Regions from separate parts of the Homo sapiens genome. Here region 1 is linked to region 2. The links are contacts of gene promoters, found by promoter capture Hi-C in human tissues and cell types (Jung and others, 2019). All regions are on one chromosome and are shown on one strand. The core of a region is centred on a gene start or on the middle of the fragment in contact, and the rest is flanking DNA. Distances in the headings are between cores, read along the strand shown. Region 1 has its middle 6.3 kb from the start of HSPB1. Region 2 holds the start of UPK3B (uroplakin 3B).

Region 1 (3,569 bases), core at 973-3,472, 200 kb before region 2:
CGGGCCTTGGCTGCCCAGGAGTGAATTATTTCCAGGCGCCATCATCACTCCGACTATAGAATCAACAGGATTTGACAGGTGCAGCTTTCGACTGCTCTGTTGAGAGGGTGGAGACAGAAGCAAAAGCTGCCCACAGAAAGGCGACAGGGAACCCCAGAGCTAGGTCCCAAGAGCCTCTTGGTGATGGAGGAGAGCCACCAAGGGACAGGAGGGTTGGGGGAACTGGAGCTCCGGCCCAGGGACAGAGCCCCAAACCACCTCCAGCCCAGGCACAGAGCCCCAGACCACCGAAGCCCTATGCCACCATGGCAGAGCCCAGGGCAGGGCAGGGGTCAGGCTGGCCCCCCCAAACACCTCCCCACCATTCCCACATGCATACACCAGGACCTGGGGGGTTGCAACAGTGCCAGAGGTCACGGGTTGGCAGGGGAGGGAGAGGAGGAAGAAAGCAGAAGAGCAGAGGGATGCGGGTGAGGCTGGGCTTGTCTCAGACAGTCTGGCACTAGCCCTCAAAGCTCAGAATCCCTGATATGGGGGCTAAGCCCCACTGCCATACTGCCCCTCCCAGGGAAATTGCCCCCCAGGGAATATGGGGGGAACCTCTGAGTGTAGCTCCCCTGGGGCCTGGAGGGCATATCAAGACATGGGGGATAGTGAACAGCATCATAGCTCTAAGTGTCCCTGATCTGGCTGGGCGTGGTGGCTCACCCCTGTAATCGCAGCACTTTGGGAGGCTGAAGGGGGCAGATTAGCTGAGGTCAGGAATTCAAGACCAGCCTGGCCAACATGGCAAAACCCGTCTCTACTAAAAATACAAAAATTAGCCGGGTGTGGTGGCGCACGCCTGTAATCCCAGCTACTCAAGAGGTTGCAGTGAGCTGAGATCAGGCCACTGCACTCCAGCCTGGGCAACAGAGCAAAACTTTCAGGAAAAAAAAAAAGTGTCCCTGATCTGTAAATGTGTAGTGGAAACTATAGAAAGGCACTGCAGGCTGGGCGCAGGGGCTCACACCTGTAATCCCAGCACCTTGGGGGGCCTAGGCAGGAGATTTACTTGACACCAGGAGTTAGAGAGCAGCCTGGGCAACATAGCAAGAACTCATCCCTGCAAAAAAAGAAAAAAAAAATTAGCCACATGTGCTGGTGCGCACCTGCAGGAGGATCACTTAAGCCGAAAAGCTAGAAGCTGCAGTGAGTTATGATCACACCACTGCACTCCAGCCTGGGTGATAGTGCAAAACCTTGTCTCAAAAATAAATAAATTTAAGAAAAGCAAAGAAAAGGTGTTTCCGGCTGGGCACAGTGGCTCACACCTGTAATCCCAGCACACTGGGAGGCCAAGGCAGGAGGATTACGAGGTCAGGAGTTTGAAACCAGCCTCACCAATATGGCCAGGCGTCGTAGCACGCCTGTAGTCCCGGTGAGTCCAGAATTCGTGGGTTCTTGGTCTCACCGACTCAAAGAATGAAGCCGAGGACCTTCACGGTGAGTGTTACAGTTCTTAAAGGCGGCGTGTCGGGAGTTTTTTCCTTCTGGTGGGTTCATGCTCTCACTGGCTCAGAAGCGACGCTGCAGACCTTCACCGTTGAGTGTTACAGCTCTTAAGGCGGCGCATCTGGAATTGTTTGTTCCTCCCGGTGGGTTCGTGGTCTCGCTAGCTGAAGAGTAAAGCTACAAACATTCACGTCAAGCGTTACAGCTCTTAAAAGCGGTGTGGACCCAAAGAGCGAAACAACAAAGCTTCCACACTGACGAAGAAGACCCTAAGTGGCTTGCTACTGCTGGTTCGGGTAGCCTGCTTTTATTCGCTTATCTGGCCCCACCCACGTCCTGCTGATTGGTCCATTTTACAGAGAGCCGACTGGTCCATTTTACAGAGAGCTGATTGGTCCGTTTTGACAGGGCTGATTGGTGTGTTTACAATCCCTGAGCTAGACACAAAAGTTCTCTACATCCCCACTAGATTAGCTAGATAGAGAGTGTGGACACAAAGGTTCTCCAAGGCCCCACCAGAGTAGCTAGATACAGAGTGTCGATTGGTGCATTCAGAAATCCTGAGCTAGACACAGGGCGCTGATTGGTGTGTTTACAAACCTTGAGCTAGATACAGAGTGCCGATTGGTGTATTTACAATCCCTTAGCTTGACATAAAGGTTCTCCACCAGACTCAGGAGCCCAGTTGGCTTCACCCAGTGAATCCTGTATGGGGGCCGCAGGTGGAGCTGCTTGCCAGTCCCGTGCTGTGCGCCCGCACTCCTCAGCCCTTGGGTGGTCGATGGGACTGGGCGCCGTGGAGCAGGGGGCGGTGCTTGTCAGGGAGGCTCGGGCCGCGCAGGAGCCCACAGCGGGGTGGGGAGGCTCAGGCATGGCGGGCTGCAGGTCCCGAGCCCTGCTCTGCTGAGAGGCAGCTAAGGCCCGGTGAGAAGTCGAGCACAGCAGCTGCTGGCCCAGGTGCTAAGCCCCTCACTGCCCGGGGCCGGCGGGGCCGGCCGGCTGCTCCAAGTGCGGGGCCCGCCAAGCCCACGCCCACCCGGAACTCGCGCTGGCCCGCAAGTTCCACGCGCAGCCCTGGTTCCCGCCCGCGCCTCTCCCTCTACACCTCCCCACAAGCTGAGGGAGCCGTCTCCGGCGTCGCCAGCCCAGGAAGGGGCTCCCACAGTGCAGCGGCGGGCTGAAGGGCTCCTCAAGTGTCGCCAAAGTGGGAGCCCAGGCAGAGGAGGCGCCGAGAGCGAGCGAGGGCTGCGAGGACTGCCAGTACGCTGTCACCTCTCACCAGCTACTCGGGAGGCTGAGGCAGAAGAATCGCTTGAACGCAGGAGGCAGAGGTTGCAGTGAGCCAAGATTATGCCACTGTACTCCAGCCTGGGCAAAAGAGCGAGACTCCGTCTCAAAAAAAAAAAAAAGAAAAGAAAAAGAAAAGGTGTTCCCCTCCATGCCCCAGTGGACTAATTCGTTTGGGCAGGTACCTTTCCCAGAAACTGGCTGGCCCAACCCTTCAGCTTACAGAGGGGAACTTGAGGCCTGACTGGGACTGCATTTGGCCAGGGTCACCCAGCAGGTCTGGGCAGGGCAGGAGCAGGGTGCGTGCACTCCACCCCAAAGGGTGCACTGTTCTACCCATCAACCGATGCCCTGGGTGCCAGCGCTGAGGAGGCCAGGGATGGAGACCCACGCATAAGCAGAGATCACTCCATTCCTGGCACGCTCCTCCTGGTCGAGACCTCTGGTTCTCTTTCCCTTTCCAACTCGCCAGGTGACTTTGGACCTCGCTTTGCCCATCTAACTGTGCCTCCCAAGGACGAGCCATATTTTCATGGGCTGCTTACAAGAGACAGCCCTGCCAACCGCCAGTTGGTGCTGGGAGAGTTGGCAGTGTGACAAATGCCGGGAATCCCTGGCTTGGCTGAGAAGGGACGGCTCTGGATCAATAACAGACTCGTGGGATGGCCTCGGGCAGGAGCACGAGGGTGGCAGAGCCTCCCTGGCTGGCCTGCAAACAAAAAGCAAGTGTCCAGCCAGGGCTCTCGACTCAGCCCAGGGAGAAAAGAGCACAGCTGGGGACCCTGGGA
Region 2 (3,645 bases), core at 695-3,194:
GAGACAGGGTTTCACCATGTTCGCCAGGCTGGTCTCGAACTCATGACCTCAAGTGACCTGCCCACCTCGGCCTCCCAAAGTGCTGGGATTACCGCCGTAAGTCACTACACCCAGCCTCAAAAACTATATTTTTAAAAATTAGCAGCTGGGCGCAGTGGCTCATGCCTGTAATCCCAGCACTTTGGGAGGCCAAGGCAGGTAGATCGCGAGGTCAGGCGTTCGAGACCAGCCTGGCCAAGTTGGTGAAACCTCATCTCTACTAAAAATACAAAAATTAGCTGGGCATGGTGGTAGGTGCCTGTAGTCCCAGCTACTAGGGAGGCTGAGGCAGAAGAATTGCTTGAACCCAGGAGGTGGAGGTTGCAGTGAGCAGAGATCACGCCATTGCACTCCAGCCTGGGCGACAGGGTGAGACTCCATGTCTCAAAAAAAAAAAAAAATAGCCAGGCACGGTGGCTCACGCCTGTAATCCCAATACTTTAGGAGGCCAAGGCAGGAGATTTGCTTGATCCTCCCAGGAGTTAGAGATCAGCCTGGGCAACATAGCAAGATCCTGTTTCTATAAAAAATACATTTTTAAAAATTGGCCAGCCGGGCGCAGTGGCTCACACCTGCAATCCCAGCGCTTTGGGAGGCTGAGGTGGGTGGATCACCTGAGGTCAGGAGTTCGAGACCAGCCTCACCAACGTGGAGAAACCCTATCTCTACTAAAAATACAAAATTAGACAGGTGTGGTGGCACATGCCTGTAATCCCAGCTACTCAGGAGGCTGAGGCAGGAGAATCACTTGAACCCAGGAGGTGGAGGTTGCGGTGAGCCAAGATCGAGCCATTGTACTCCAGCCTGGGCAACAAGAGTGAAAACTCCGTTTCAAAAAAAACAAAAAAAAAATTGGCGGGGGTGCCAGGCACGGTGGCACATGCCTGTAATCCCAGCACTTTGGGAGGCCAAGGCGGGTGGATCACTTGAGATCAGGAATTTGAGACCAGCCAAGCCAACATGGTGAAACCCCGTCCCTACTAAAAATACAAAAATTAGCTGGCCGTGGGGCACATGCCTGTAATCCCAGCTACTTGGGAGGCTGAGGCAGGAGAATCGCTTGAACCCAGGAGGCGGAGGTTGCAGTGAGCCCAGATCACGCCACTGCACTCCAGCCTGGACAACAAAGGAGACTCCATCTTAAAAAAAAATTAATTAAATAAATTTTAAAAATTAGCCGGAGCATGGTGTTGTGTGCCTGTGGTTCCAGCTACTGGGAAGGCTGAGGTGGGAGGATTAACTGAACCTGGGAGTTTGAGGCTCCAGTTAGCTGTGAACTGACCTCCCTGGGTGACATATATATATTTAAGCCACTGAGCTGTGAAGGTTGTGAAGGTATGTGAGTTATGTCTTGAAAAATACACACATAGTGAGCGCCAAATCCCGGGAGTAGTGTTTAAGTGGCGGGCTTGTCAGCTGTCAAGGGCTCTGCAGCCCTTTCTCTGAATCCAAGTTCTTCTTCCTGTGGACAGGGAACCCAGGCTGCGAACTGGGAGGATGTGGCCTCGTGGGGGGCAGGGCCAGCGTGCTGTGATGGGGATGGGGCTGGGCAGGTTGGGGCTGCCTGCTACTCCCCACTCCTGACTCTGGGTGGGGACAGAAGGCAGAGGGAGGCTCCTGGCACCTGGGGCACAGGAATCTCAGGCATGTGGTCCTGAGCCTGTTTCCAAAAGCCAGACCCTCCTCCCCAGGGCGGAGAGACTGGGAGGGGCCCCAATCCAGGCTCCGGGATGGCCTGGCTGGCATCTGGGGTTCCAGTGGCCCCTCTCCCTTGGCCCTGGCAGTGGGGCTGGATACTGGCCTGCCTCCCACCAGAGTCCCCCCAGCTCCTCCCTGCTGTGGGCTGGCCTGGGAGGAAGGGGGTGGGGTGCACTTACATTTGCAGGTCTTTCCAGCCCCTGGGGCAGCCTGATTAACCAGCTTCTCCAGGGCCAAGCTGTTGGGGGTGAGGTGCAGCCCGAAGCAGCCAGACCAGCCCCTGAGCCTCCCGGGTGCTGGCAGCTGTCATGGGGCTACCCTGGGGGCAGCCTCACCTAGGGCTGCAGATGCTCCTCCTGGCGTTGAACTGTCTCCGGCCCAGCCTGAGCCTGGGTGAGTGGGGGTCCTGGATGGACGCGTCCAGCCAGACCCAAGGGGCTGGGGGCCCTGCTGGAGTGATTGGACCCTGGGCGCCCGCCCCCCTCCGATTGGGAGAGGCAGCCCCAGGGACCCCCACGCCCGTCTCCGTGGCTCACCTTTTGTCCCCCGTGGCCACAGAGCTGGTGCCCTACACACCACAGATAACAGCTTGGGACCTGGAAGGGAAGGTCACAGCCACCACCTTCTCCCTGGAGCAGCCGCGCTGTGTCTTCGATGGGCTTGCCAGCGCCAGCGATACCGTCTGGCTCGTGGTGGCCTTCAGCAATGGTACGGGGACTGCTGTGGGGCCTGGGTGAGGGTGACGGCTGAGGAGAGTGGTGGGCCCTAGGAGCCCCTCACCAGCAAGCGCCTTCAATGATTGAGCCCCTGTGGGGGCCTTTGGGAGAGTAGGTGTGGATGAATTGGGCTTTATCTAAAGGGGTAATATGTGTATTGAAAAATACACACGTAGTGAACACCAAATCCCGGGAGTAGTGCTAGTGGTGGGTTTGTCAGCTGTCAAGGGCTCTGCAACCCTTTCTCTGAATCCAAGTAGTTCTTCCTTTGGACAGGGAACCGAGGCTGCGACCTGGGAGGATGTGGCCTCCTGTGGGGCAGGGCCGGTGCACTGCAATGGGGCTGGGGCTGGGGCTGGGCAGGTTGGGACTGCCCGCTGCTCCCCACTCCTGGCTCTGGGTGGGGACAAAAGGCCAGAGGGAAGCTCCCCTTCAGGGGTAACAAAGTCGACTGGGTCTGGACTATCTCTGGGGGCCCTGAGGGAGGAGGTGGCATGGGGGGTCAGGGCTGGAGACTGGGCGAACACAGAACCCCCACTCATAAGGACAAAGCTGCTTTCTCCCCTCCCACCTCCATCTGTTCTCTCCTCCTGCAGCCTCCAGGGGCTTCCAGAACCCGGAGACACTGGCTGACATTCCGGCCTCCCCACAGCTGCTGACCGATGGCCACTACATGACGCTGCCCCTGTCTCCGGACCAGCTGCCCTGTGGCGACCCCATGGCGGGCAGCGGAGGCGCCCCCGTGCTGCGGGTGGGCCATGACCACGGCTGCCACCAGCAGCCCTTCTGCAACGCGCCCCTCCCTGGCCCTGGACCCTATCGGTGGGTGGTCCCCACCGGAGCCCTGGGACTGGGGCTGTGCTTGGGGCGGACGCATTGCTGGGACCAGGGATGCTCTCTCTAGCATCTTTCCAGGGAGGGGTCCCCGGCCCCGGTCCTCCCCTTTGCAAGCCCGGGCTCCTTCCACTGTAGAGTCAGCAACAGTGCTCACCCCCGCTGGGGCCGGGCAAGGCCCAGGAGGAGCAGGTGGGCACCTTGGGGAGGCGGGATCTTAGTCAAGGTGGGAGGGGGCAGCTTCCCCAAAGTCTAGGCCCCTGTCCCCCACCACGGGCAGATCTGGCAGGAAACTCGGGGGCCGAGTTCAGACCCAGTCTCGTCGGTATTAGGCAGGGAGCAGGAGAGGTGGCTCCTA

Evidence for each region. Contacts are between HindIII fragments. The study calls those that stand out against the background at their distance.
Region 1: a fragment that was not itself captured here is called in contact with the fragment with the promoter of UPK3B in region 2 in 1 of the 25 tissues and cell types used here (spleen).

What each region holds. Positions count from the first base shown.
Region 1 is chr7:76,307,228-76,310,796 of GRCh38, forward strand. No RefSeq gene overlaps it. Among named protein-coding and RNA genes, the nearest start is that of HSPB1, 6.3 kb to the left of the region's middle. The HindIII fragment of the contact is 4,912 bases long and covers 1-3,569 here.
Region 2 is chr7:76,508,608-76,512,252 of GRCh38, forward strand. UPK3B (uroplakin 3B) reads left to right here and starts at 1,945. Exons shown (of 6, transcript NM_001347684.2): 1 at 1,945-2,130; 2 at 2,296-2,445; 3 at 3,050-3,275. The coding sequence starts at 2,046. It overlaps LOC124901675 (a long non-coding RNA gene), which reads right to left and starts at 2,126. Exons shown (of 2, transcript XR_007060388.1): 1 at 1,917-2,126; 2 at 1-1,501. RefSeq lists a silencer at 327-532 and enhancers at 1,410-1,982, 1,983-2,555, 3,309-3,645. The HindIII fragment of the contact is 20,174 bases long and covers 1-3,645 here.